2 separate regions of the Homo sapiens genome follow, and region 2 is linked to region 1. Evidence: promoter capture Hi-C in 16 types of primary human blood cells and fetal thymus (Javierre and others, 2016). All regions are on one chromosome and are shown on one strand. The core of a region is centred on a gene start or on the middle of the fragment in contact, and the rest is flanking DNA. Distances in the headings are between cores, read along the strand shown. Region 1 holds the start of KLRK1 (killer cell lectin like receptor K1). Region 2 has its middle 16 kb from the start of GABARAPL1-AS1.

What was found. Contacts are between HindIII fragments. The CHiCAGO score rates a contact against its expected background, and 5 or more counts as called.
Region 2: a fragment that was not itself captured here is called in contact with the fragment with the promoter of KLRK1 in region 1 in 1 of 17 cell types (naive CD8 T cells); the score reaches 7.0 in naive CD8 T cells.

The regions. Positions count from the first base shown.
Region 1 is chr12:10,387,816-10,393,831 of GRCh38, reverse strand. KLRK1 (killer cell lectin like receptor K1) reads left to right here and starts at 3,791. Exons shown (of 8, transcript NM_007360.4): 1 at 3,791-3,889; 2 at 4,957-5,061. The coding sequence starts at 5,022. It overlaps KLRC4-KLRK1 (KLRC4-KLRK1 readthrough), which reads left to right. Exons shown (of 13, transcript NM_001199805.1): 5 at 1-22; 6 at 1,941-1,997; 7 at 4,957-5,061. The coding sequence starts at 5,022. The region is part of intron 3 of KLRK1-AS1 (KLRK1 antisense RNA 1); the gene reads right to left. The HindIII fragment of the contact is 4,388 bases long and covers 1,182-5,569 here.
Region 2 is chr12:10,227,547-10,233,763 of GRCh38, reverse strand. No RefSeq gene overlaps it. Among named protein-coding and RNA genes, the nearest start is that of GABARAPL1-AS1, 16 kb to the right of the region's middle. The HindIII fragment of the contact is 8,341 bases long and covers 1-6,217 here.

The DNA of each region.
Region 1 (6,016 bases), core at 2,542-5,041:
AAATTTGAGCACCTGCTAATAGGTACGTAAGAGGGAAAAAAATGTGACTTGAGACACCTTGCTTCACTCATTTCTACAATTAATGAGCCATTTTCCTTAGGAAGAAAAATGCTGTCTTATCCCTATATCTGTGTCTTTAGGCACTTGTGGTAAGTAATGTCACAAATTTAAGTCATCTTCAAAATTCTAGACTTCTTTGATATTTGAAGCACTGAAGTAAACACAAAATCCATTTGAATCCAAGATGCAGAAGTCGTTAAAGGCATCGTTCCATCTATGAATGTGGAGATTATCACTATAGCAGGAAATGGAAGGTTTAATGGCAATCAAATAAGCAATCAGAGAAAAGTAACCAGGATGCTAATAAAAAATATGATGTCATCTGACCTGCAAATCATGCATGTGACTTACTTGAGAGCAATTGTTTAAAGTTACTATTTATGTATGGCTATTTATGCACAATTATAAAGATAATACCAGAGTGGGAAAAACACTTTTCTGTTCCGTTATACCATATAGATTGCAATTAAACAATCAAAACAATGGTGTGTCCTAGCATGGATTAAGTTAATATAACACAAATATTTGCTAAAGATATTTCAATTGAATTGCTAAATTTTAGAATTATACAAAATTTCAACTGAGATGGGGCAAAAAAATCATTTAATCATTCCTGGCTTAGGAAGCTGTGCCAGAGAAAATTAATTAATTGCCAAGATGATGACCTGTTTTTCCCCAAAGTATAAATTCCAGATTTATGGAATCTCTGCCTTGAGTTCATATAATTACAATACACCAGTTAACATTATATGTCAGTATGTGTAGCCCAGTACTTAATACCTAGCTGAATGGAAAATAGGTTCTGAAAATATATATATACATATTTCTTAAAATATGTTTGCAGACTTTTTTACTTTTACATTAGTCATCATTTCACTTCTGCTTCAATATGCCCATGCGTGTCCAGACGAGACTGGATGCATCATGGTGGTGTGGCCATAGATGCCCCTGCATATCCAAAGACTCAGCTCTATTTCTTCCACTCCTTTTTATTTTCTTTATTGTCCATGTGAATTTTAAAAATTTGTCCTTTTTGACATGTCTTTTGTCAATTCAAACACATTTACCAAAAGGTCAAGATTACAAAATTTTTGCTTGGCAATAGCTGCACATCTTAAGCTTTCATATTTGGGCAAGCGTCCAGTAAACGCCTCTGACCACATCCAGCTTTAGTGTCACAGCTTGAAGCCAGCAACCTGCCAAGCACTCTGTTTCTAACCACAAGTTGGCTGCGTGTTAAGTCTTTCCTGTGTACCAGAAGAGAAGGGTTTTCTGAGGCCACAGTGCGAGTTAGCTTACTGACCAAAAAGGCCGGTTGATTGTTGGCTCTTCTCAACTAATGAAAGTAATTAAATAGTTTATTGTGGTGATGGATGTTCTCAAATGACTTGAGCCCAGGCTGTTTGCAAAATATTGTAATTTTTCTTCTAACAATAGTTTTTGAAAGTTATATAGATACGTCTATATGAAGTTTGTTCAGGTACTTTTATAGTCAAATTATTCTTTCTGCAGAAGTTAATTGCGTTGGTTTTATTTCACTTATTAGAAAGTATTTTATCTGAAAACTATGCTATGTCCTTTTGCAATTCACATAGAATAAACCAGTACAAATGCCCAGCAAATCCCCAATAAGTTTACTATCATGACTACAGCAAAGTGAGTGTATGTTCAACATTGAGAAAGAAATTGGAGTTTTAACATACTATTTCTTTATCTAACTAATTGTTTTAACCCGACATACAGGACCCATTTTAGAATTTTCTTCTTTAAGAATCCTTTCCACACTCTGTCAGTTGGTTTAGGGACCTTTATATATGACAATAAAACTCTCCCTGGTGCTTAGCTTTATCATGGTATTTATTTCAGAAATCTTCTTTTAGGTATGTGTGGGGACTTCCCAGTTGGCTGTAAGTTGCCATTTGAACTAAACGAAATAGGTAGGATATTCAAATGTTCTTTTTTATCCTATTCCTATCCCCCTTTTCTCAATTCTGTATTTAAGAGACAATCTCTATTCAATCGAAAACTACATATATAAAAATAACTCTTCAGGAAATTGTGATTCAGGTTTTTCCCATAAAAAGCCTGCATTTACTCATTTATTCATTTCCTTTCAAAAACCAAATATTTGTTAAAATGTAGTTGTTAGAAAATATCAGCCTATATTTCCTCTATATAGATCTATTTTTACTATATAAAATAGCTAATAGAAAATGTTGATTAGCTGAAAAGAATCTTGGTATGTCAGAAAATAACATATTTTCTTCAACTTGTTTTATATTCACCTATCTTGTTTAATTTTGAATTTGTTTTATACTTATTCATTTTATATCACCTAAACTAAAAAGTAATTTCCAGCTGGGTGTGGTGGCTCACGTCTGTAATCTCAGCACATTGGGAGGCTGAGGCAGGAGGATCACCTGAGGTCAGGAGTTCGAGACCAGCCTGACTAACATGGTGAAACCTCGTCTCTACTAGAAATACAAAAATTAGCCAGGTGTGGTGGCACATGCCTGTAATCCCAGTTATTCTGGAGGCTGAGACAGGAGAATTGCTTGAACCCAGGTGGCGGAGGTTGCAGTGAGCCGAGATCGCCCCGTTGCACTCCAGCCTGGACAACAAGAGTGAAACTCCATCTCTTAAAAAAAAAAAAAAAAAAAGTAATTAATTTCCATGTGGGCAAAAACTTTCTTTTGGATTGTTTACTTTGACATTCTCAAGATCTAGAAAAGTGCATAGCAAATAGCATTCGCTAAAGAAAAAAAATGTTGAATAAATTTATTGTCCAACTTTAACACATCACCACATGAAAGCTGTTTTCCTTCCTTATATTTCAGAGTTTTAAGATTAATAGCTTTGGTTTTTGTTAAAATGTTATAATGTGTTCATCTTATATTACTTTATATGATGTCTTATGTTAGTATTTTAAATTAATAAACATAAAATATATATTTAGCTTATCTTGTTCATTGGTATCAATTCATATATTATTCTTATGTATACTGGGGTATATATTTAAGTTTCTAATTCTCCTGCATATGATGTAGATATGACAGAGATGCAATTTCATGTTTTTTATATTAAAATTTAAAAATTCCCAGGACTAATTTTTTGTAACTTAAAGGCCAGTGTGATAGTAACCCAGGACAAATTATTGAATAGGAGCTAATTTCCCACTTTATCTGCAATGTTACCTTATATTTTTTAATCTATGCACATGACTTTTTCTTGTCTGTATTTTTACCCTTCTCAATTTGTCTATCTATGCCCCACATGCCACTTTGCCTTTATTAATACGGTTTTAACATAGGTCTTACTATCTAGTAAAACAAGGCTCCCACATTTTCTTCATCTTCAATTGTGACTTTCCTAGTCTTGACTTTTGTAATTTAATGTACATGTAGAATTCTGCTTTGTAAGTTCTACAACAAAACCTGAGGTATTAACTGGAATTGAATTGAATCTCTAAAATATTTAGGATTAAATGGCATCATTTAAATTCATCATTTTCAAATCCTAAAATGTTATTTAAAATAATGGCAAAACTACAATTACTTTTGCACCAACCTAACATTTATCCAACAATGGGTGGTCTTAACTCTTTTACCAAATTAACAATATTTTTGTAGTGATAAGGCGGAAGTACTGTGGTTTATGTTTTTCCACAGGAAGATGAGATTATAATATTTGTCACATCTTTCTCAAAGATAGAAATTCACTAAGTATCTCCACTTTCAATTCTAGATCAGGAACTGAGGACATATCTAAATTTTCTAGTTTTATAGAAGGCTTTTATCCACAAGAATCAAGATCTTCCCTCTCTGAGCAGGTGTGTGTATGTGTGTATGTGTGTGTGTTTATTATTCAAGATATGAGAAATTATATTTCAACCTCAAAAAAATAAAAATATTTACACTATAAGGTAATTCTAATTGTTTCTTAGATGCTTGAATAGAACTCCTGAGGATACGGAATGCTTATCATTTCTGATGTATATTCTATCACTGTATCTGATGATAGGTAATTAGGATATACTTATTGAAGAATCAGAAGTTGTAATATTACTATAAGAAGAAGCCTTGTCTCTAAGCAAAACTAGAAAAATGAATCTTTACATTTAGGATGAGAAGAATTGAGATTCAATTTAAATTGTCAAATTTTTGAGTTTTCTGATGCTGTAGGGGGCACTTACCTTTGATACACATCTTTACATGCAAGGTGAAACAAGTTATATCTGTGCTTTCCAACTATCATAATCAAATATGAAATAGCTTTTATTTTTGAAATCTAAGCACTATGCTTATTTATTAAATGGTTTTTTCTGGAAGCTCTGCTGTGCATTGCTAAGATGTTACTATATAAACATGTGAGATTAGTTTTGTTAATGATGATGGTGATGATAATTTGTTGATGATGATGATATGGGCACGTTGGATTAAAATGCACTAGAAAAGGACATTCAACAAAAGTGCATATAACTTACCTGAGTTTAGCTTGCAGAAAGAAAACTAAATTATTGCCAGATAAAATAAACAACTGGAAACACTTGATCTTAGCTAAAAGGCCAAGAAGCAATAAACGACTATAAACAGAAAACTGGGTGTGTTGTTATCTAATATCAGTAAAGTAAAATATTGGTATTAAATATCTCAATGTAGGTGAATTAATAGGTTCATTATATTGTTATGACATTTTGAAGTAATTGGCGATTATTTTACAACCAAGAGAAATGTATAAAATTAATTTTGCCTGGCTTTATGTGAATTGTCATTTCTATTCTTTTCTTAAAGGCATGCACAGGGGAAAAGTTTCTGCATTTTACTTTTCTATTCAAAATATTTTATCTCACCACGGGAAAGAGAACAAAAAACAAATGCCCAGTTTTATTTTATTCAGGAATCCTTTGTGCATTGAAGACTTTAGATTCCTCTCTGCGGTAGACGTGCACTTATAAGTATTTGATGGGGTGGATTCGTGGTCGGAGGTCTCGACACAGCTGGGGTATGTTTTTACCACATAAGTGTGTAGTTTTGTTTTTATACAATTTTAAGATACCAAGAATTTCATACAAGCATATAAGGCATAGGCAAGCAATTTACTCTGATTCTTTTCATGTTCTATTTATGTTGATTTCATGTTATGTTCATATTGTATTTTAAATCAAGTCTTCCAAAACTTAAAAACTTTTTTCCCTTTATTTTATTAACTATATTATGGTAAAGTCGCTCACAACTTGGGACAGCTTGAAATAGTGAAATAGATGTGGAGTCAGACTTGAATTTTACTCAAACTTTTACCGCTCTCTAGATTTGAAGGGTCAATTTGCAACCTCTGTGTAGTTTAGTTTAGTTTCTTTTTCTATCAAATACAGGCATGAAACATTCCATATTTATCTTAGATTTGTGTAATATTCAAATCAACTGACATGTATGTTAAAGCACTTTTTATCCTAAAGGTGTTTATAAATTTATAACTTATTCACAGTTGGTAACATTATATTAAATAAGCTTTATGATTTTGGCCATCTCTAGCATTCAATTTCTTCATCCATAAAGTGATACCTACTCTCTTTACTCCATATGTAAAATAACTGAGTTAGGTATTACATGCGCAATCAATGTCTAATTTTACCTATAAAATATAATTCATATTATCATTTAATTTATAAAAGGCTTTTGTACAACAAACCCCCGTGACATGAATTTACATATGTAACAAACCTTCGCATGCACCCCTGAACCAAAAATAAAAGTTTAAAAAAGGCTTTTAAGTAAATATTAATCATCAGTAAATAATTAATATTTCAAGAGAGCAAAATGATTCTTTAGGTATTTTGTTCAGAGGCAAGATTATCTGTCTTTGTTCTAAATCATTAGACCCCACTATTTTAGCCTATGTATGTCCTTCATTATAAAGAAAATTAGATGGCTGGGCACAGTGGCTCATGCCTATAATC
Region 2 (6,217 bases), core at 1,195-3,694, 160 kb after region 1:
GGACCCAGTGGGAGGTAATTGAATCATGGGGGTGGTTTCTCCCATGCTGTTCTTGTGATAGTGAGTGAGTTCTCATGAGATCCGATGGTTTTATAAGTGTCTGGCATTTTCCCTGCTGGCACTCATTCTGTTTCCTGCTGCTCTGTGAAGAATACACCTTCTGTTATGATTGTAAGTTTCCTGCGGCCTCCCCAGCCATGCAGAACTATGAGCCAATCAAACCCCTTTTCTTTATAAATTACCCAGTCTTGGGTATTTCTTCATAGCAGCATGAGAATAGACTAATATATAATGAAATCTGGCTGGGTGCAGTGGCTTATGCCTGTAATCCCAGCACTTTGGGAGGCCAAAGTGGGCAGATCACCTGAGGTCAGGATTTCAAGACCAGCCTGGTCAACATGGAGAAACCTTGCCTGTATTAAAAATACAAAAATTAGTCAGTCATGGTGGCAGGCACCTGTAATCCCAGCTACTCGGGAGACTGAGGCAGGAAAATCTCTTGAACCTGGGAGGTGGAGGTTGCAGCGAACCGACATTGTGCCACTGCACTCCAGCCTGGGTGACAGAGTGAGACTCCATCTTAAAACAACAACAAAAAAAAGAAATCTAATCTATCAATTAAGATTATCTTAATTTCTGCAGCACTGCAAAACAAACATTGATGGAGAAGGAAATATGGATCTGGCAAGAATTATATTCTTCTTTTTTTTTTTTTTTTTTTTTGAGACGGAGTCTCACTCTGTCACCCAGGCAGGAGTGCAGTGGTGTAATCTCAGCTCACTGCAACCTCCGCCTCCTAGGTTCAAGCAATTCTCTGCCTCAGCCTCCCGAGTAGCTGGGATTACAGGCACCCACCACCACGCCTGGCTAATTTTTGTATTTTTAGTAGAGATGGGGTTTCACCATCTTGGCCAGGCTGGTCTTGAACTCCTGACCTCATGATCCACCCACTTCGGCCTCCCAAAGTGCTGGGATTACAGGCGTGAGCCACCGCGCCCAGACTACTTATTTTATTTAAAAGTAAAATAAGGCAAATTCAGAAGAGGAGTTCTGTATTAGTGAAGATTCTCCAGAGAAATAGAACCAATGTTATATATAGCCATGTGTCACTTAAGGATGGGGAAATGTTCGGAGAAATGTGTTATTGGGGGCTTCATCATTGTGTGAACATCATAGAGTGTATTTACACAAACCTAGACGATATAACTACTACACACCTAGGCTATACGGTATAGCCTATTGCTCCTAGGCTACACACCCATTCAGCACATTACTGGAGTGAACAGCACAGGCTATTGGAACACAATGGTAAGTATTTGTGTATATAAACATATCTAAACATAGAAGAGGTACAGTAAAAACATGGTGTTATAATCTTATGGGATAACCATCATGTATACAGGCTGTCATTGACTGAAATATCTATATGTAGCACATGACTAGATATAAATGCATATAAAGACTATATGTATATAAATATCTACATATAAATAAAGAGAGAGATTTATTATTCTTATAGAAATTGGCTCATGGAGGCTTATGGAGTCTGAGAAACCTCACCATCTGTCTGCAAGCAGGAGAACCAGGAAAGTCAGTGGTATAATTCAATCCAAGTTTAAAGGTCTGAGACCAGGAGCTGTGGATGTCCCAGCTCATGGACAGAAAGAGGGACTCTCTACCCTCTAACTTTTGTTCGATGGAGGCCCTCAATGGATTGAGTGACACCTGCCTACATTGGTGGGAGAGGATCTTCTTTACTAGGTCTACTGATTCAAACGCTAACCGCTTCCGGAAACACCCTTACAGAAACAGCCACGGATAATGTTTCGCTACCTATCTGGGCATCCCTATAGCTCAGTCAAGTTGACACATAAACTTAACCATCACAAGCGGCTATTTCCAGAACTGTTCCCAATGTGTTGTTAAACAAAGAGCACCCAGTTGAGTCGACCACAACCCTGGCTATACATATCACTTAAGAGGCTTGTAAAAAGTAAAGATGCCATGAATTTTACATTATGTGAATTTTACCTCAATAAAAAGGAGCCTATAGCATAGGGAGGGGGCGGTGGGGGGAAAAATTAAAAAAACTAAAAGTATGGATGCCAAACCCTCCGGTGTCCTCCCCAAGAGTGATGCAGAAGTGGGGCTCTGCCATCAGACGTTTTTGGGAGCTCACCACTGATGGTCATGTGCAGTCAGGGTTGGAAAGCACTGCAGAGATTGATTTTGTTCAGTAGGATGGATAGGGATTTTAATTGAATGTAGCAATAAAGACCCAGGGTTTTTGTTTTTGTTTTTGAAGAACAAACAAACAAAACTCCCAACATTAGAGCAGTCATAAGCCGATTGTAAAAAACCAATATTATCCAACTTCAAAAAATAACAATTAAAAGAGGTCAGACGCGGTGGCTCACGCCTGTAATCCCAGCACTTTAGGAGGCCGAGGTGGGTGGAGTTTGAGGCTGGTAGTTCGAGACCAGCCTGGCCAACATGGTGAAATCCCATCTCTACTAAAAATACAAAAATTAGCCAGGTATGGTGGCAGGCGCCTGTAATCCTGGCTACTGGGGAGGCTGAGGCAGGAAAATCGCTTGACCCCAGGAGGCGGAGGTTGCAGTGAGCTGACATTGTGCCACTGCACTCCAGCCTGGGTGACAGAGTGAGACTTCATCTAAAAAAAAAAAAAAAAAAAAAACGAAAAAACCAGCCTGGCCAATATGGCAAAACCATCTCTTCTAATAATACAAAAATTAGCCAGGTATGGTGACATACGTGCCTGTAATTCCAGCTACTAGGAAGGCTGAGGCACAAGAATCACTTGAACCCCAGAGGCGGAGGTTGCAGTGAGCCAATATTGTGCCACTGCACTCCAGCTTGGGCGACAGAGTGAAACTGTGTCTCAGAAAATACATACATACATAGATAAATAAAATTTTAAAAACTCAAAGGATCATTTTTAACTTTTCCTTGGATAGGCCCCAATAAATCTGTTACAAACAAAATACCCGAATCATGGTCCCCAGGTCTTCATTCCTTGTTAGGCTGAGATATGCTGGATTGTAGACTTATTTTTATACTGATTGTTAATTTCTCTCATTCATAACACTTTATCTAGTAGTCTCAAGATTCCATTTGCATAGATAAAACTGTGTTTAAAATGCTGTTTTCTGTACAGTAAGTCCTCACTTAACATCAATAGATTCTTGGTAACTATGACTTTAGGCAAAATAACATGTAATGAGACTAATTTGATCATAGGCTAATTGATATAAACAAGAGTTACTTTCCCACAGCATGTTTCTGGTCAGAAAAGACACAACCATTTCTTTTTTCTTTTTTTTTTTTTTTTTTTTTTTGAGACAGAGTCTTACTCTGTTGCTCAGGCTAGAGTGCAGTGGCATGATCTCAGCTCACTGCAACTTCTGCCTCCCAAGTCCAAGCGATTCTCCTGCCTCGGCCTCCCAAGTAGCTGGGATTACAGGCACCCGCCACCATGCCTCGCTAATTTTTGTATTTTTAGTAGAGATGGGAGTTCACCATGTTGGCCAGGCTGGTCTCGAACTCCTGACCTCAGGTGACCCACCCGCCTCAGCCTCCCAAAGTACTGGGATTACAGGCGTGAGCCACGACACCCAGCCAAGACCCAAACATTTCTAATATTTAACATTTAAATAAATGTGAGTTATACATACATTTAAGAAAGATTAATAAAAACAAGGTAACTGTTTACCCAATTTATGGTGAATTAGTGAGTGCCACTGGTCCTAGTAGTGGCAGTGGGTTAAATCAAGGAGTAAATATTTGGCCGGGCACAGTGGCTCACGCCTGTAATCCCAGCACTTTGGGAGGCCGAGGCGGGCGGATCATGAGATCAGGAGATCGTAGACCATCCTGGCTAACACGGTGAAACCCCGTCTCTACTAAAAATACAAAAAATTAGCCGGGCGTGGTGGCGGGCGCCTGTAGTCCCAGCTACTTGGGAGGCTGAGACAGGAGAATCACTTGAATCTGGGAGTTGGAGTTTGCAGTGAGCTGAGATCACACCACTGAACTCCAGCCTGGGCAATAAAGACTCTGTCTCAAAAAAAAAAAAAAAAAAAAAAAAAAAGAAAGAAAATCAGTGCTAAAGGAGACTCTAACAGAAAGGAAGAGACCCCCTCAGTGTCAGAGCCGTCTTTTGAGCTATCCAGTTGGGCATATTCTGCTTTGTTTTCCTTGATCCATGCCACATCCTGCATTTGCTGTGACCAATAAACAAAAAAGAGAAACAATCAGAAAGATTTCTGCCATCTAGCCTAAGTTATTGCCTTTTTTTCCTTTTTTTTTTTTTTTTTTGAAATGGAGTTTTGCTCTTGTCGCCCAGGCTGGAGTGCAATGGCACAATCTCTGCCTCCCCAGTTCAAGCGATTCTCCTGCCTCAGCCTACCAAGTAGCTGGGATTACAGATTCTCCTGCCTCAGCCTACCAAGTAGCTGGGATTACAGGCACCCATCACTATGCCCCGTGCCCAGCTAATTTTTGTATTTTTAGTACAGACGGGTTTTCACCATGTTGGCCAGGCTGATATCGAACTCCTGACTTCAGGTGATCCTTCCACCTCGGCCTCCCAAAGTGCTGGGATTACAGGCGTGAGCCACCTTGCCTGGCCAGTTATTGCAATTTCAGTTTCAAGTAAAATAAATCTTAATATGTGAGAATGCTATTTAATGGTTTGCAAAGGATTTACTTGTGTTCGCAACAATGTATGATGTAATTATCTTATCTACTTGAAAAGGAAATGCAGAATTTTTTTTTTTGAGATGGAATCTCGCTTTGTTGCCTCGGCTGGAGTGCAGTGGCACAATCTTGGCTCGCTGCAACCTCCGCCTCTGAGATTCAAGCGGTTCTCCTTCCTCAGACTCCCAAATAGCTGGGACTACAGGTGTATTTTGTATTTTTAGTAGAGACAGAGTTTCACCATGTTGGCCAGTCTGGTCTTGAACTCCTAACCTCAGGTGATCCGACTGCCTCAACCTCCCAAAGTGCTGGGATTACAAGTATGAGCCACTGCGCCCAGCCTGGAAATGCAAATTTCATTTGTACAGATGACAGACTAGCCCAAGTCCTAGCTCTAGTCAAGCAGCAGAGCTGGGATTCAAGTTGTTTCCTGCCTCCAGGACATCTTTCTAGTAAGCTCCAAGTGTTTCCCAAAGTTCCTTGACTGGCCTGTTTGTAACATGTCTTTCTGGATAATTTAAGTTGCCTAGTGGTTCAGTCCTATCAAAAACTACTATTTCAATATTTTTGAATGCCAACCATATGCCATTCACTGTTCTGACCAATTGTTGTATATCACTACACAAAAAGTTTCTGCCTTCCTGCACCTCAGGATCTAGAGAGAGAAGACATAATAAACTAGAAAATTATGTTACATGATCACTACGAAGCAAAAAAGACAAAGACCAAGGTTGAGAATGACTAGGAGAAAGGGAAGTAGGGGGAAGGTGTTGAATATTAGAGATGTTCAGAGTTGGTCTCCTTGACATAGTATCTAAGACTTGAAGGAGGTTAGGAACTAGCCAATTTTAGCACGTAAAATATGGCTTATTGTTACTTTTATCCTTTGAATACCATGTGCATATTGCTTAAAGAAGCAATAAAGCCATCATCATTCTTTTACTGAATGGTATGAAGCAACTTTGAGCCTACTAAAAGTGTAAAAATAGAAAACATGTTTCAACTTCTCACCCAAAAGTTCAGGATCACTTTATTCAAGTTTTAGGAGCTAAGTACTTCTAAACAGAAGTCCTAAGGGTCTTAAATACACTGCTTTTGAAAACAGAACTACTGAAATAGATGGCCCCACCGTGATGAAAACACACCAGGAGAATGACTTGTCTTTTGTTAGTCACTGTTGAAAACATGCACACCTGCACAATGGCATAGTGAAATGTCATTTGACTACTTTTAAGGGTGATAACTTCCTGTTATTTCAAACTCTGAAAATAATCTAGCCATGGGTACATATACTTAAGAAGTGCCCACAACCAGGAGGAAAAAAAAAAAAAAGGAAAAGAAAATGAGGCAGGGCCCTACACAGGGTAACCAAGCTGAGATCATCAGTCACAGCTTTTGGAACAGGGATTCTAGTATTTGTGTGTGTGGACTTTTTGTTGTTGTTGTTCAGCTACTTATCAAAGGTAAACAAAGGGGTGGGTCGCTGGGCAGTGGGCAT